5 separate regions of the Homo sapiens genome follow, and all the other regions are linked to region 4. Evidence: promoter capture Hi-C in 16 types of primary human blood cells and fetal thymus (Javierre and others, 2016). All regions are on one chromosome and are shown on one strand. The core of a region is centred on a gene start or on the middle of the fragment in contact, and the rest is flanking DNA. Distances in the headings are between cores, read along the strand shown.

Evidence for each region. Contacts are between HindIII fragments. The CHiCAGO score rates a contact against its expected background, and 5 or more counts as called.
Region 1: a fragment that was not itself captured here is called in contact with the fragment with the promoter of TMEM127 in region 4 in 2 of 17 cell types (monocytes and M0 macrophages); the score reaches 7.0 in monocytes.
Region 2: a contact is called between a fragment that was not itself captured here and the fragment with the promoter of TMEM127 in region 4, in 1 of 17 cell types (total CD8 T cells). The highest score is 9.1, in total CD8 T cells.
Region 3: a fragment that was not itself captured here is called in contact with the fragment with the promoter of TMEM127 in region 4 in 5 of 17 cell types (total CD8 T cells, naive CD8 T cells, activated CD4 T cells and 2 more); the score reaches 7.6 in total CD8 T cells.
Region 5: a fragment that was not itself captured here is called in contact with the fragment with the promoter of TMEM127 in region 4 in 9 of 17 cell types (monocytes, total B cells, non-activated CD4 T cells and 6 more); the score reaches 8.2 in monocytes.

The regions. Positions count from the first base shown.
Region 1 is chr2:96,652,217-96,655,636 of GRCh38, reverse strand. It overlaps FER1L5 (fer-1 like family member 5), which reads right to left. Exons shown (of 53, transcript NM_001293083.2): 8 at 1,935-1,997; 9 at 1,141-1,191. Among named protein-coding and RNA genes, the nearest start is that of FER1L5, 11 kb to the right of the region's middle. The HindIII fragment of the contact is 3,620 bases long and covers 1-3,420 here.
Region 2 is chr2:96,710,093-96,713,412 of GRCh38, reverse strand. It overlaps LMAN2L (lectin, mannose binding 2 like), which reads left to right. Exons shown (of 8, transcript NM_030805.4): 5 at 1,388-1,549; 6 at 1,643-1,757. Among named protein-coding and RNA genes, the nearest start is that of LMAN2L, 28 kb to the left of the region's middle. The HindIII fragment of the contact is 1,100 bases long and covers 1,010-2,109 here.
Region 3 is chr2:96,575,334-96,578,829 of GRCh38, reverse strand. No RefSeq gene overlaps it. Among named protein-coding and RNA genes, the nearest start is that of ARID5A, 40 kb to the right of the region's middle. The HindIII fragment of the contact is 2,624 bases long and covers 829-3,452 here.
Region 4 is chr2:96,264,389-96,267,916 of GRCh38, reverse strand. TMEM127 (transmembrane protein 127) reads left to right here and starts at 1,920. Exons shown (of 4, transcript NM_017849.4): 1 at 1,920-2,048; 2 at 2,405-2,779. The coding sequence starts at 2,536. CIAO1 (cytosolic iron-sulfur assembly component 1) reads right to left here and starts at 1,692. Exons shown (of 7, transcript NM_004804.3): 1 at 1,428-1,692; 2 at 448-596; 3 at 181-292; 4 at 1-81. The coding sequence starts at 1,566. RefSeq lists enhancers at 1-503, 1,101-1,380, 1,611-1,800 and silencers at 2,031-2,080, 2,091-2,300, 2,351-2,660. The HindIII fragment of the contact is 2,360 bases long and covers 758-3,117 here.
Region 5 is chr2:96,744,681-96,747,869 of GRCh38, reverse strand. No RefSeq gene overlaps it. Among named protein-coding and RNA genes, the nearest start is that of LMAN2L, 6.2 kb to the right of the region's middle. The HindIII fragment of the contact is 2,172 bases long and covers 669-2,840 here.

The DNA of each region.
Region 1 (3,420 bases), core at 488-2,987, 390 kb before region 4:
TGGCCTTTGTCAAGAGCACAACATTTTTCACCTCCTACCATCTAACATTTCTAGAATCTCTGTCTCTCTATGTTTTTTTCCAAGGGTGGTGCCCGTTTCCTAACATTGTAGATTTAGTAAACAAAAACAGAAGATGCCCACTTAAATTAAAATTTCAGATGAACAATGACTACTTTCTTAATACACATACGTCCCCTGCAATATTTGGTGAGAAGCCATGTAATATTTGGGACATACTTATATTTAAAATGTATTTTTTGTTTATCTAAGATTAAATGTAACCAGGCATCCTGTATTTAACCTAGCAACCTACCTTTTCCTGATCTTTTTGGATTTGGAGAATCTTAGTTTAGCCCATCATGACTGTAAACTCTCCTAATCTCTCAGCCTGTCTTCCCAAATCACATCTTTTCACTCTGTCCTCACAGGCAGCAATATTTCTCTGAGTTTCCCTAACATGTAGGCTGACCTTTTGGATCCTCTGCTTCTACTTCCTGGAGGCAGAGATTTGAACTGTGTCCACAGTATCATGGGAGTGTGGAATTCAACATGGCGCCCTGAGCTTTCATAAACGTTATATATACTTTAATCCTCACAATCACCCCCCAGATCGAGTATATTATCATCTCCCTTTTAAAGATGAGGAAGTAGAGGTTCAGAATAACTTGTTTAAGTCACCCAGTTGGTAGGTGGATACAAGCCTGGATCTTTCTTCTTCTTTTTTTTTTTTTTTTTTTTGAGATGGAGTCTCACCCTGTCGCCCAGGCTGGAGTGCAGTGGTGCGGTCTCGGCTCACTGCAAGCTCCGCCTCCTGGGTTCAAGCAATTCTCCTGCCTCAGCCTCCTGAGTAGCTGGGACTACAGGCACCCGCCACCTCACCCCGCTAATTTTTTGTATTTCTAGTAGAGACAGGGTTTCACTGTGTTAGCCACGATGGTCTCGATCTCCTGACCTCGTGATCCACCGGCCTCGGCCTCCCAAAGTGCTGGGATTACAGGTGCGAGCCACTGCACCCGGCCAAGTCTGGATCTTTCTGTGTGAAAATCCAAGTCCTTTTCCCTAGACTTGGGCATGGAGCCCAGCATGGGTCTCTGTTTTAATAACTGTTTCACTGAACCTCCTCCCATGTACAGTACTCACTTGAAATCTCCCGATCTCTGCTTTGTATCTCATTGCTGAGGAGTTCACCACCTGCAAGGGAGTTCCCAGAAATATTTTAATTATTCACAATCCCAATTTCCCTCAGCCCCTGTAAGAGGTATAGCAAAGGCACAACCAGGATCCTCCTGACGTATTGAATGCTTCCTAATGGGGCAGACACTTGCACATGGGTGTTCTCATTTCACTCTCAGAGGAACCCTGTGAGGTTCAGATTTTTAATTCCATTTTACTGATGAGGAAATTGATCAGAGAGGTCAATTTCCTTGCCCCAAGTCAACACAAAGCAAGGTGTTGCACTCAACGTTATCCATTACATGCTCTCCTGGTTGTTTCCTCTGTGCCTTTGTTCCCAAGAACAGTAAATTCTTCAAAGGAAGAGGCCTCTTTGTTCTCCTTAGCCCTGTGCTGGGCACATAGTAGGCACCTGATAACCACATGTTCCACATTGTTACTGGCTCCCTTTGGTTAGGGAATGGAGTATTCTACTTGGAGGGGCCTTTGGTGGCTTGAAAATCCTGGCACATGGGAAGGGGCTGCCTTGTTCACCTTGGCGCCCAGTTCAGGGCCTGGCAGTTGGCAATCCACAACATTTGTTGAATAAATGAGTAAATGAATGAATAATCTGGGTGCCAGGGGGTGAAGAAAGTGGTGGGGATCAGGAAGACAATCTGAAGTGCCCCTGGCTCTAAGGGTGGGGGCTGGAGCTGTAGTGCTTCCCAGTATTGAAGTGGGACAAGAAACCCACCTTGCTGGGGACCAGTTTGGCTCCTCACCTGGATTAAGATGGTCTCATCAAAGAACTTTGCAGGAACCTCATGAAAATTCTGGAAGAAGATCTGAGGCAAAGAGAATTGGGGTAGAGTGGATGATTTCTTCCGCCACTTCACCCAAGCACTCAGTAAACCTGAAAGCTCAGAATAATGTGCTTCTTTCCACAACTTTACCCATTTCAATGGGTTTACAAGTACAGGCTGAGTATTCCTAATCCAAAAATCTGAAATAAAAAATGCTCCAAAATCTGAAACTTTCTGAGTGCCAACATGACCCTCAAAGGAAATGCTCACTGGAGCATTCTGGGTTTCAGATTTTCATTATTACGAATGCTGAACTGGTACAATGCAAATATTCCAGATTCCCAAAAAAAATCTGAAATCCAAAACACTTCTGATACCATGCATTTTGGGTAAGGGATACTCAACTTGTGCCACTTCTCTCATGCTCCCCCAGAAGCAGAGGCCTCCCGGGCTCCTAGAGGGTTTCCTATTTTTAGGCGGAGTCTCGCTCTGTCACCTAGGCTGGAGTGTGGTGGTGCAATCTCAACTCACTGCAACCTCGGGTTCAAACGATTCTCCTGCCTCAGCCTCCTGAGTAGATGGGATTACAGGCACCTGCCACTGCATGTGGCTAATTTTTGTATTTTTACAAAAGAGACAGGGTTTCACCATATTGGTCAGGATGGTTTCGAACTCCGGACCTCAGGTGATCCACTCACCACGGTCTCCCAAAGTTCTGGAATTACAGGCATGAGCCACCAAGCCCAGCCTCCTGGAGGGTTTTCTGCCCAGAATGGGGAATGGTAGGAGATTCCTGGAGAACTCAGGGCCCAGCTAGCTGCCCAGGATGGAGATTTGAGCCCACACCTCCTTCTAGGTTGCCCTGCCAGTCCACTCTGTCCCTGCTCCCCGTGGCAGCCAGAAACTTCTTTCCCAAATGCAAACCTAGGCCTGTCACTCCTCTGCTTAAGTCCTCCATGGCTCCTGAGTAGTGTCCAGGATGGGACCCCAGCCCACACTGTAGGCTCCCCTCCAGCCAGTCTCCTCCAGCCACACCCATAGCTATAGTTCTGCTGTCAAGTCTGCGGCTTGCTTGGTTCCAGGCCTTTGAAAACACCATGACTTTTTCCTGAATTATCTTTTCCCATCCTGTCTGTCTTTCCCTGGTAAAATCTTCCTTCAGGGTTGCTGGAGCCCTTCTGAGTCCTCTCCGCCACCCCCAGCCTCATTACTCACTTACTCCTTCCAGCTTCCACTGTGCTTTTATCTTTTATTTGTTCATTTACTAATTAATTCAACAAGTATTTATGGAGCACCTACTGTGTATCAGGCACAGTGCTACAATTTGGGGCTCCAGCAGCAATGAGACATACATGGTCTGGGTCTGTGCTTCGAACCTCCAATAGCAATACTCCCAGACCTCTGTAAACCAGGATCTGCTCTGTTGTAATTGTTTACGGATTCATGAGTTGTGCCCCCACCAGCC
Region 2 (3,320 bases), core at 310-2,809, 450 kb before region 4:
TAGGGGACCCCTTTGAGAATCTGATATAGTAACAGACCCTCTCCTCAGAAAAATGTACAAGCACCCGTGCATATGGTTTTGCCTATCATCTTGAGGGTGCAAAGACTTCACGGATGCCCTTCAGGGACCCTAAAATTCTGTTTGGGGATTTAAGTTGGTTTGTTCATCCATCACAGCTGGGTCATAGCTCTTCTGTGGCTGTGTCTTTCTGACTTGGTCTCCTGTCTTCTGTGCCCTCTCTTGTTTTTATCATAACCTGCTGGACCCTCTCAGGCCCAGAAGAGGCGATATTCTCCAGGAGTCCAGGTACTCAGTTCTTGGCTCATCATGAGCATCCCTCATTCCCATGTGTCCATCCAACATTTGTTGCTGTTTCAAGTCCATGTGGTTGTCTCAGGAGTCCCCGGTCTCTGGTCTCGACTGCATCTCCATCTTGCATGTTAACCATTTGGGACAAAGGGACAAATACTCCCCAAAGGAGTGGCATGCCTCATGTTACCCCTTCACCACCTCACTACCCTGCCTTTTTGCACTGCCTTGGCATTGGGCTTGTTCTGGAATGATTAGTTCGCCATTTCTAAGGAAGAATTGCTCCTACAACTCTACTGGGGAGAGAGGGCCCCTGAAATAGATGGGAAAATGAGTGGCTTATGGGAAAACTTGCAATTTTCTCCCTGTTAAGGGAGAACCTTGCCCTCTTATTATTATTCGGAGAAGTTACGTGTGGAGGAGGCTTAAGTGGGCTGGAAAGTCTTTTGACTAAGGACAGTCATTGTGGCTGGCTGAGCCCATCCAGCAACCCCGTTCCATGTTCTGAGTTCTAATCCATTTAGCCTTATATGCTTATAGAATTTTAGAATTGAAAAGAGCTATCCTGAATGGAAAGATTCCCCTGCTCAAACAGGTATTTTCAGAATACCCGCTGTGTGCAGAACCATGGTTGGGAGGAGATGGGGCTGAAGTTTAGACATATGAAGACGTGATGAATGAATTTTTTCTTCAAGAAGCTTATGTGGCAGTTGGGGAGATAGGTACATATACACGAAAAGGAAACCCCTGGTATTAGGCGGCACATAAGTGCCAAATGGTGACCTTGGGGCATTCAAGTCAGACTCCAGCGTCTTAGGAGGACCACTTCAGGCCCACCCCAGTTCAGGAGCCAAGAGAATTACTGAAGGCAAATACCAAGTGTAGTCGCTTCCTGGGCCCATTTCCCTTGAGAGACCATCTGAATGTGGGCTCTCAGGGGCTGCTGACAATGAGGTCGAGTGGCTGCCTATTCTGCTGTAAGGGGCTCAACTTGTATGTGCTGAATTCCTGTTGCTGTTTGTACAGGCGTTCCTATGTGCTCTTCCTTAGTGTCTGCTTCCCCCTCTCTGCTTTCCAGCGGGTATTCCCCTACATCTCAGCCATGGTGAACAACGGCTCCCTCAGCTATGATCATGAGCGGGATGGGCGGCCTACAGAGCTGGGAGGCTGCACAGCCATTGTCCGCAATCTTCATTACGACACCTTCCTGGTGATTCGCTACGTCAAGAGGCATTTGACGGTGAGAGTCCTTGTCCTGGACCAGATGGTGGTGTGGGCTGTGTCGCTCTTGCTCCCATGGCCTGACCCTGATTTATCTCTCTTTTTATTCTAGATAATGATGGATATTGATGGCAAGCATGAGTGGAGGGACTGCATTGAAGTGCCCGGAGTCCGCCTGCCCCGCGGCTACTACTTCGGCACCTCCTCCATCACTGGGGATCTCTCAGGTACTGCCACGCGCACTCTTGGTTTGCCCTGACTGAGGCCTCTTCTCAATACCCACACTTCATTGAGGCCTCTCACAGGGGAGAGCCAGAGGAGCGGTGCTCTGGAAGGAGGTGCCTCAAGACTGCTTCTCCTTCTGCATTCTTATATCCACATTCCTTAAAAACCCACGCCAGGCTTTCCTAGTACAGTTGTCACTAGAAGATGGTTGGTGCTAATAGAAAGCAGTGTTTGTCCCTTCATTAAGCTGGCTCTTCTAGCCTGTATCGTGAGTTCCTTGCTTTCTGATTTCTGCTGTCAGGCTCCTCTCCTTCCAACCACTAATGTTCCCCGTTCCCCTTCCTTAACAAAGCTTTTCCTTGACTTTGCCGTCCCTCTTCTGACCCCAGACTCTCCTTTTGCTGAGACTTTTGAATGTGTTGTGTGTACAGATCCTTTTGTTTCCTAGCTGTCCACCTCCTTAACATGCTGACTCAGACCTGTGCTCTATCTTGCTAGTACACTAACACCATTCTCATGAAAGGTCATTCTGTTTCCTTGCCATATTCAGTACTCTATTCTCGTTCTCACCCTTTGTCCTCCTCAGCTCATTTAACCCATTACCCTGAAACTCTTGCCTTCTTGACTTATGTGACATTAACAGCACCTGGTTCTTTTACTTTTCCATCTCCTCTTGTTTCTTTTTCTACTTATGCCTGATTCGTAGCTTCTCGTTTATACACTTACTCTCTTTGCTTGAACCCCAATCATAACATCTTTTGGGAAGAGAAAAGGAACTGAACTTCTGTTTCTTTTGATTAATATAATTTGTTCTGGATAAAGCTAGTTTGGAATAGAAGTTTCTTGTGGCAAAATAGAAAGGCAGATACCCATCTGAAAAAGCCGACAGCTAGTGAGCTCCAGCCATTGTAGCTAAAAGGAAATGTCAGCTCAGTGAGGCTAAATCTTCCAGTTTTTCAAGAGCAGTTGGAATTCTGGATTTTTTTTTATATATATATATGGAGTCTCGCTCTGTCGCCAGGCTGGGGTGCAGTGGCGCCATGTCAGCTCACTGCAACCTCCACCTCCTGTATTCAAGCGATTCTCCTGCCTCAGCCTCCCAAGTAGCTGGGACTACAGGCGCGCCACCACGCCCAGCTAATTTTTGTATTTTTAGTAGAAACGGGGTTTCACCATGTTGGCCAGGATGGTCTCCATCTCGACCTTGTGATCCGCCCGCCTTGGCCTCCGAAAGTGCTGGGATTACAGGCATGAGCCACTGAGCCCAGCCTGGATAATCTGGATTTTTAAAATGCAATCTGCTGATCTTTAAAACTCTGGCATCTGATTTTTTTAAAATCAACTTTACTGAGGTGTGCTTTCCATACAACAGAAGAATACAGTTTGAAGAGTTTTGACAAATATTTACACCTATGTAGTCACCATCACAATTAAGATATGAATGTTTCCATCACCTGCCAAAAGCCTTATTATCCCCCTTTGCAGTATTCCTCCCCTTCTTGGATTCCAGGCAACCATTGATCTGCTTTCTGTCATGCAGAGAGATTAGTTTTGGCAATTAGGTT
Region 3 (3,496 bases), core at 891-3,390, 310 kb before region 4:
CTGCATTGACCTTTGTTTCCTGCCCCAACTTGCAACTTGAAGAGAAAGGCCAAGGATTAAGAATTAGGACTCATTAGGCCGGGCACGGTGGCTCACACCTGTAATCCCAGCACTTTGGGAGGCCGAGGCAGGCAGATCATGAGGTCATGAGATCGAGACCATCCTGGCTAACACGGTGAAATCTCGTCGGTACTAAAAATAGAAAAAAATTAGCCGGGCGTGGTGGCGGGTCCCTGTAGTCCCAGTTACTCAGGAGGCTGAGGCAGGAGAATAGCTTGAACCCAGGTGGTGGAGCTTGCAGTGAGCCGAGATCACGCCACTGCACTCCAACCTGGGTGACAGAGCGAGACACTGTCTCAAAAAAAAAAGTATTAGGACTCATTAGCCAGGCGGGTACACGCCTGTAAACTCAGCTACTCAGGAGAAGGGAGGATCACTTGAGACCGGGAGTTCAAGACCAGCCTGGGTAACATAGTGAGACCCCTGTCTCCAAAAAAAAAATTTTTTTTAATTAGCCAGACATGGTGGCATGCACCTGTAGTCCCAGTTACTCAAGAGACTGAGGTGGGAAGGTTTCTTGAGCCCGAGAGTTCAAAGCTTCGGTAAGCCATGATTGAGCTACTGCACTCCATATCCTGGGAGACGGAGCAAGACCCTGTCTCAAAAAAAAAAAAGAAATAAAAAAAGAATTAGGACCCTGGCCCCCATTCTCAGCTCTGTCTCTGTGTCATTTGTTAATTCTGAGTCCTGCTTGCATCTTGGCATTGATTCCACCCACCCCCTCCTCCCCCAAGTAGGGAGAACAATAACAATGCTTACATTCAAGCTTTATCCTAGGCCATCATTACTGGTATTCTATAGTTCAGGGAAAAACTGAGGCACAGAGAGGTTAAGTAACTTGCCCAAATCACACAGCTGGTAAGTGGCAGAACCATAGCCGAATTCTGGCAGTCCACTGCAAAGCCCACTCTCAAGCAATCTCTAATCGCAATGACTTGGCTCTCAGGGTTGTGGTGGGTAAGCCTGCTGTGCTCGGAAACTGAATAGTAGCTCATGGCCTATCCATGATAGGTAAAGGGTTGATTGGTTGCAAACCTCTTATCTAAATGGCCTGTAAAAGCACACACTGTGCTTGCTCACAGTGCCCAGAGACCACGTGGGAGGTGCCAAATATGGGTGGTAACAGGCAAGGAAGAGGGAGTATCTGTACCAAATCTGGTTTTGAGGAAGAATTGTATGTCATGTTGAATTGACAGTCTGGCTAATTGGATGGGTAGATGGCTCCTACATGGGTGTCGTAGGCTCTGGCAATGCTGGGCATCCCATTTTCCCATAACTTGTCAGGCTTAAAGTGATTACTGAGGAAGGTGGAAACCAGGCTTGACCACTTGGTTCTTGGTCCATGTGTTCAGACTTCCCTAGAGAGCACCTGTCCTGGAGGATCTAAGCCAGGGCTTCTCATGGTGAGCCCTCTCCGAGAGTGGAGAAGCAGACCAAGGCAGTGGGGAGTGGGACTCTTCTTATGTGGATCATGCCCAGCACCAAATGAGATTGATTCCAGATTAGGTCAGCAGTCATTCTAGACCAGATGGTCCCTATGGAAAAAAAGTGGAGAGTTAGAACAGGGAAGGGTGAGCAGCAAAAGATGCAAAGGAGAGGGAAAACTGGAACAAGGGACAATAATTTCAAATCTGTAGGTTTGTCTTTTTCCCTCTCTTCCTAAGCAGTTTAGTCCTAAAGCCACTAAATAATGCACAGCCAAAAGGGAAAATATTCGTGCATGTGGCAGGGGGAGAAGCCAGCACTAACTTTTGCTAGAAGTGTTCATTGGAGCCCCAGAAAATCCCCTGGGTTCCAGACCTAGTCCTCTGCCACGATCGTGTGGTAATAACCCCAATTTTCCCTTGATAATTGGGGTCAGTCACTTCAGCCCGCAAAGTCACTGCTCTTTTTTGATTTAATGTCATGAGGCACCCAAAAATGTCTAAATGGAGGCAGTCTCAGCTTCCAGTTTGATGGAGCCATTGTTGGGTCCCTGGTGGAAATAGTCCTCCCTTGGGAACCAAGACCTTCCAAGCAAGCAGAGCTCAAAATTGTGGAGATGAGAAGTGACTGGTCATTATGTGTGCTAGTGGGAAGACCTGCTTTCTTTTCTGTTCTTGCTTCCTGGGCCCATGAAGAGACAGCACTATGAATAGGTCTTTGATTTGAAGGATATATTGCATCCTATAAGATAAAACCCTATTCTTTCAGGGTGTTGACTCCCATCTGGTGCCCTAGGTAATTATCTAGTAGGCCATCCCACTGTTCAGACTGACCTCTTCACGATGGGATCTCTGGTAAGACCAATGAGTTTCATGAACCACAAGCCCATTGTTGCAAGCCTCTGTAATGCATGCCTTCCAGTGAGTATCCACATCAGATATTTGGGACCCAAATATCTGTTCCCCTTTGTGCCCAGTTTGAGAAGTTTATCTATATAATTTCCCCAGATCTCATCACCAATGTTCCAACCCTTGTCCCTCCATAACCATCCAGTCATTAATTAGAAATCTTCCTTTAGTCAGCAGATCTGTACTTCTGGTCATCTCTCAGTTCAAACAAAGTGGATAACCAAACAGCTCCAAGTTCTGCTGAATAGGAAGTCTTCTGTTTATCACTGTCCTTCAGAGACACCCAAGTGAGATTGTAATATTGCCATCCACTTTCTGTTGGTTCCAACATATAGAGAACTGCCTGCAAATCAAGCCCAGATTATTTCCTTCTCAGCTACCTAGTCATAAGGAACTCCCAGCAGGCATAGATGAGGATTGAGGGGGAGGAGGCAATGCAGCCAGAGTCAGTGTCGAAGGAGTCTGACTTACTTCTGTCCTCTGGACCTGCTTGAGTCCAGCCTTTTCTATTTTTGCTGCACAGGTCTAATCTGTGGCTAGGTGTGTCAATAACTATAAATTCATGATGGAAAGCTCAGGTCACAAGGTTACTTGATATCTCATGGTTCAGTGTTTATTCTTTACTAAGGGCCAGTAGAAAAGCAGAATCTTTTTCAAACAGATATTAGTTACTTGGAGAAGAGGGCATGGATTTGCCTCCACACTCCAGAGTTCTGTACTGTGATTGTCCTATTAATGCTTGTCACAGGCTCCACAGACCAGCCTGTTTGTCACAGGCACTTTTACTAGCATTGGATCTGTGGGGTCATAAGGCTTGTTCTTCAGCCTGGGCTTGATGCAGAGCAAGAGATTGCTTTAGTCTCTGCTCAAAATTGATTACTCAGTAAATGGGTTGAAATAACACACTCAAGTTTGGTATGCATTGCCTCCAAATGCCAAGAAGGATCCACCAAGGATTTTCTTTATTTTTTAGTTGTAGGTGATGCAAAGTACAGCAACTTGTCTTTTGCCTTGGAGAGGCAATCTTAACAAGCTCGTCACACTAGATCTCTGGAAGCTTTGAGATCATAAGCCTTTGAATTTTCATGGGGTTTATCTCCCAC
Region 4 (3,528 bases), core at 671-3,170:
TTGGGTGCCAAACCACATGCTTGACATCCTGTGTGTGGGAGTTGAGAACACTGACACATTCATACTCATCCTCTTCATCAACTGTGGGAGAGAAAAAGGGGACCCAAGAGCCGACCCTGTCAGGGACACAGAGGGGGCTGTCAGGTGGTTCCCAATCCACCTGGAGGGACCTGGCCTCACCTTCCCAGACCCAAACGCTCTTATCTCGGCTGCAAGTGGCCAGGAGGTTGCCAGATGGGGCCCAAGCCACTGACTTGACCTCATTTTCATGGCCCTCGAGAGTGGTTACACACTGTGAAAGGGGAAAGAAAATGAGAATTAACAGCAGCTAACACCCCTAAGCCCCTTCCCATGGGTACAGCCCAACTGGCGCAGGTTGGCTCAGGTTCCTGAACCAGCCCTGGGGAGGAAACAGGCAATAATTCTGGTCCCAACCAGCCTGGGTACCTCAAAGTCATCCTGGTTCTTCTTCCAAATGCAAGTGGTAGCATCAAAGCTGGCAGAGGCCAGGTAATTACCGCAGGGGGACCAGGCTACCTTCCGCACGGTGCGCTGGTGGCCTTCAGAAAGGACAGACTTGCAGATCCAGCTGTCACCTAAAGGCGGAGCGCAGGCCAGGCTCTGGAGCTGGGTGCAGCACCATGAAGCCATTCAATATCAGGGGCTAGCACTGGAATCAAGCTAGTGGGGGAAAGCTCAGGGAGTGTATTTCACAGCTTTTACAAAGATGCAAATGAATCTACTTCGTCTGGAAGCTTTTTTTTTTTTTTTTTTTTTTTTTTGAGACGGAGTTTTTGCTCTGATGCCCAGGCTGGGGTGCAATGGCACAATCTCGGCTCACTGCAATCTTCGCCTCCTGGGTTCAAGGGATTCTCCTGCCTCAGCCTCCCGAGTAGCTGGGATTACAGGTGCCCGCCACAACGCCCAGCTAATTTTGTAGTTTTAGTAGAGACGGGGTTTCACCATGTTGGCCAGGCTGGTCTTGACCTCTTGACCTCAGGTGATCTACCCGCCTCTGCTTCCCAAACTGCTAGGATTACAGGCGTGAGCCACCGCGCCCAACCTCTGGAGGCATCTTTCTAAAACAAATCTGATCTAAAATTGCTATTGGTTCCCCAATGCCCTCGGGATAAAATGTGACCATCCAGTCGCAAGTTACTCTGAAGGCCACTTTCCTAACACCTCTCTTTTCCCATTTTCCTGCCTCTGCAGCTAACACAATTCCCTTGACATTTCAGCTTGTCTGCTGACGTTTTTCCTCCCAACAGTCGCAGACTTCTTTGCCTGTAAAGCCCTTCTCGGCGTGGCTAACATCCCACTCTCCCTCCGCCAGGAACAGGTTCAGCCTCCCCTGCAGGCTGAGCGCCTGCACTACGCGCAGGCTGAGCCCTCAGCGCTGAGGGCCGCGCAACCAGGCTGGGCCTTACCCTCCGTGCCCCAGATGCGGATTCTCCGGTCGCCGCCGCACGAGGCCAGCAGGGTCCCCGCGGGGTTCCAGGCCAGGAACCAGCAGCGGGAGTCCGGGTGCGCCGGGACACGGCCCAGCAGCACCAGCGAGTCCTTCATGTCGGCCCGACGCAGGGGGAGGTGGGGGCGGGCAGAGTCCGCTGAGCAGACAGCGGGTCTCACCGCGCGCGTCTGCGTACCGCCCACTCCAGGCTTCCGCGGCCGACAGAGGCTCCCGCTTCCGCCGGAGGACCTGGGTCGCCCCGGAAACTCAACTGCCCACTGCTGCGGCCGCCATACCCTCTGGGAGTTGTAGTCGCTCCCCTCACCTCGGCAGGGAAAGCATCGCGGGACCGCCTCGAACTACCAGTCCCGTGAGGCCCTGCGCAGAGCCGGCGGCGCGCCCAGGCTGTGACGCGCGCGGGGGACGGGGCGGGGAGCCGGAGGAGGCGGAGGCAGAGGAGGAGGAAGCCGGAAGTGCATCGGCCCCGGGTCTGTCCGGGCGTTGCGGGATTGGGGCCTGGGAACGCTCGGCCCCCGGCAGCCGAGAAGCCCGTGACTGGGCTGAGCAGCACCATCCCAGCCCTGGGGCCTGCTGACTGGTGAGGAACAGTGGGCGGCGTGGGGAGGGTCTTTTCTGCGCACAGGTCGCACCCCAAACCGCCGGTCCCAGATCACGGGTCCCCGATCCCCGCGGCCCAGCCCGGTCCTCCGCCCCTCGGCATCCTCTGGCTGAGACCCTGACTCCGGGTCTTTGCTCTAGCAGTAGCCGATCCCCGATCCCTCCGCCCCCCACTCGAGTCTGCCCAGACCCCATCTGGCCCCTGGCCCTCTTCGGTTGTCGTCCCGCAGTCCCATTCCGGAGTCTCCTGTCTCCGCCCCCCGAATTCCCGCAGCCCTCCCCGTCTCCGTCAGCCCCGGGTCCCACCCCCCTATCCTCTGGTGTCAACCCTGACAGCCCAGTCCCGGCTTCACCTGCAGCGAACCCGGAGCGTTGCTATCCTCCACCGGACTGTCAGGCTCTGCGCGCCCCGCGGAGGTCGGCGGCGACCAGCAGCGACTGCGGAGCGACGGCGGGCGGCCCCGGGCATGTACGCCCCCGGAGGCGCAGGGCTGCCCGGCGGGCGCCGGCGGAGGAGCCCGGGAGGCAGCGCTCTGCCCAAGCAGCCGGAGCGTAGCCTGGCCTCGGCCCTGCCTGGCGCCCTGTCTATCACGGCGCTGTGCACTGCCCTCGCCGAGCCCGCCTGGTTGCACATCCACGGAGGCACCTGTTCGCGCCAGGAGCTGGGGGTCTCCGACGTGTTGGGCTATGTGCACCCGGACCTGCTGAAAGGTGAGGGTGCTGCGCGCTGGCCCTTAAAGCCTCGGTGGGGGACAGAATGTGTTCTGGCTGAAGCAGAGATAGCCAGGGACCAGACACTTGGTTGAAGGAAACGGCCCCATAACTGCCTGGTGTTCATGCCCACCAGGTGGCTCTGTTTGGGGTCCGGCCCCTCATTAATTCTGATGTTATTCAGCTAAGCACCTACTCCTCACAGCCATGTTAATCCGGACTGCTGCTATTTTAGGATTCTGCTGGAGGAAGGACGCTGTGTATCGAGAAAAGATAAGGGTGCTAGGTATCACAGTTAGCTGGCCTCTTCTAAGGATCCTGTGAAATACGGAAAAGCTTCTTTGGGGCAGACTGATTAATGGAGAAAAAGGAACTTTTAATATGACTAGGTTTTAAAAGATATCTTAGAGTTCTATGGTAATCGGATGCGTATTAGAGAAGAAGGGAATCTGTGGCATTTTAGGTAATCGGAAGACCGTTCCATTGCCACCCGCAGTACAACAGTCGGAATGTGGCTCTTGGAACCATTATAGGTGTGCCTGACAGAGGCAAGGTTGCTTTGTTCATCATCATGCTTTCCGGCCAGATAGACAGCAGACGATGGGAGGGTCCTATGGGCCCCATAGTTTATCCTGCCCATTCTTGTCTCCAGTAAAAATTGTGAAGTGTGAGGACAGGACTGGACTGTATCACCTGCTTTTTACCCTAACAATGATCAATGTACCCCAAACAGTCCTTAGTAACAGCAT
Region 5 (3,189 bases), core at 505-3,004, 480 kb before region 4:
GTTTCATTCCAACTCCAATCAGATATGCCAGAGTTCTCCTCCTTCACCACACCCCATTCTACGATCCTTGGCGAATCTTATGCCCTAACTCTGTGGGAAGCAAGCATCTGGATCCCCAGAGGCATTGCTGAATTGTGGGAGCTCTGCCACTGCAAGGAGAGCCACCATAGATCTGAGATCTGGTCCTCAGGATACTGGTTTTTATCAATTCCCCTGCAAATAAACAGACTGGGAGGGCTAAGTCACTCTGGCTAAACTAATAACTAAGTGATAAACCCAAATACACACTAATTTCTTAATTTATACAGAAAAATTAAACTGCTAAGAGGATTAGAACGTTAGGCTGGAAGTCTTTATAAATACGCTCAGAAAATAGGCTTTATTTGAATAAAGTTATATGGAGATCTAACACAGGCTGCTTAGAAGCACTCTCTTTCCTGGACAGAACTGATACAACTCTGACTTATTTTCATCCCTTGACTGTTCTTTTTCTAGATTGCAGACGCCTCTCTCTTTAGTTATGACAACATTATATTGGATGGGTCACAATGAACTTTACTAGATTATAGTTAATTACAGTTTTCCTTCCCTCAGGGAAATTTAGAAAACACCACAAATGCATACCCAGCATATTTCCTCATCATCTCCACGGGAGACTTTGAGAAGCTTTTCCTTACGGCAACTCTCACACATCCATGAAGCTGGAGGGAGTGTTGTGCACCCCTATCTCAGCTGCAGCAGTTCTCAACATCCTGATGCTTTTTTTGTTTATCCATCCTACCCTTCTAAACACACACACACGATATTCCTCTAGAGTATCTTAAAGCAAATCTTTAATTCTTATCTTTAAATTCAGGAGTTGGAGCCTCTATGAACTGTTCTTGTCATTTTTTTTTTTTAAGAGATAGGGTCTTTCTCTGTCACCCAGGCTGGAGTGGAGTGGCCTGATCATGGCTCACTACAGCCTTGACCCCCGGGGTAAAATGTCGCAGCCTCCCAAGTAGCTGGGCCTACCGGCGCACACTAGCACACCCAGACAATTTTTTGTATTTTTTGTATTTTTTAGAGACGGGGTCTTACTATGTTGCCCAGGCTGGTGTCAAACTCCTGAATTCAAGTGATCCTCCTGCCTCGGCCTCCAAAGTGCTCGTACTGCAGGTGTGAGCCACTGAGCCCAGCCTGTCCTAATCTTAAAGATTACCACAACAAGTCATTGTGAGGTCAAAATGAGATACTGCATGTGAAAGGGCTGTAGTTCTGAAAACTGGGCTGCGTATTAAATTCTCTGGTGGAGGGTGGGGTGGGCACGATGGCTCATGCCTATAATTCCAACACTTTCGAGGGCCAAGGTAGTAGGATGCCTCGAGCCCGGGAGTTCAAGACCAGCCTGGGCAAATAGCAAGACATTATCTCTACAAAAAATAAAATAATAGCCAGGCATGGTGACACCTGACTGTATTCCAACTACTCAGAAGGCTAAGGCAGGAGGATCCCTTGAGCCCAGGAGTTTGAGCCAGGAGAATCCCTTGAGCCCAGGAGTTTGAGGCTGCAGTTCACACCACTGCACTCTAGCCTGGGTGACAGAACAAGACCCCATCTCTTAAAAGAAAAAAAAAAAGGCCAGGCATGGTGGCTCACGCCTGTAATCCCAGTACTTTGGGACGCTGAAGTGGGCGGATTGCTTGAACCCAGGAGTTCGAGACCAGCCTGGCCAACATGGTGAAACCCCGTCTCTACAAAAAATATAAAATTTAGCTGGGTGTGGTGGCATGTGCCTGTGGTCCCAGCTACTCAGGAGGCTGAGGTGGGAGGATGGCTTGAGCCTGGGAGGCAGAGGTTGCAGTGAGCTGTGATCACACCACTGCCCTCCACTGGGTGATAGAGTGAGACTCTCTCTCAAAAAAAAAAATTAAATTCTCCAGGTTTTATTTTTTTTTCTTCAAAGCTAAATCCCTACACTTGTTGAGTCACGTGTCTGGCAGTAGGGCTCAGGCAAAGGTACCTACCCCAGGATATTTGACTGTGGCTTTCAGGAGTCCAATGTTGAGAAGTCACCGCTGGGAAGTAGCTAGCTAGTTAGTGTTGGAGCTGCTATCCTCTTGTATGCTTCAGTGGCTACCTGGGGAACTGGAGGTACAGTTGGTAGGACCCGGTCAGCTGTGACTATTGGGCTGAAGATGGACCTGACACACTGGATACCTGAGGATGGATGGATGGTTGTACTTGGCCTAGGGAGGGCTGCTTCTGTCCTGGGAGGGGGTGGATCAGAATTGAATGGCAAGGTTTGTAAAAGAAGGGTGAGAAGCAGTGGAAAGAATAGGCCAAGAGGCTGCCCTGGAGCCTCTGTCATGGGGTGAAGGGGCATCAGGCTTCAAGGTGCTCCTGAGTGGAGGTACTTCTTTGGTTGTTGTTGTTTTTAATTTTTTAAAAGGGACAGGGTCTCAACATCTTGCCCAGGCTGATCTTGAACTCCTGGGCTCAAGCGATCCTCCCAAAGTGCTAGAATTACAGGCATGAGCCACTGCGCCCAGCCCTGCTCTTTGGTTTGGAAGACAGGAAGGTAGAGGAATCATGCAGAACTGCTGGAATGCACAACTCACATTGCATATGAATACCCCGGCCCTGAAGTTGTGCAGCCCTAGATCGTGGGAGATAGATGATTCCACAGAGAAAAAGGGGACCACTAGGCAGCTGAAAGGATGGTAGCGCAAGACCTGAGCCAGCTTTCGGAGGTGCCTCTGCGTGTGAGTAAAAGGTGGCGTTGAAGGGGCCATGGCTACTTGTTCTCTTTCCCACTACCACCCCTCAACACCTTGACTGTGTTGAACTTAGCTGAAGCTTGTGCTTCTGAAAAGCACCTACAGTAAAGAAATTCCCCATCCTTTTGTCTTCCTTCCATCTCACTTTGTAGACTCCGTTGTCCAGGCTGGAGTATAGTGGCGCGATCTTGGCTCACTGCAACCTCTGCCTCCCAGGCTCAAGAGATTCTCATATCTCAGCCTCCCAAGTAGCTGGGATTACACACACGTGCCATGATGCCCGGCAAATTTTTTATGTATTTTTAGTAGAGACAGGGTTTCACCATGTTTGTTGGCCAGGCTGGTCTTAAACTCCTGACATATGATCTGTCCGCCTCAGCATCCCAAAGCGCTGGGATTACAGGCATGAGCCACTGCGCCCAGCTGAGAG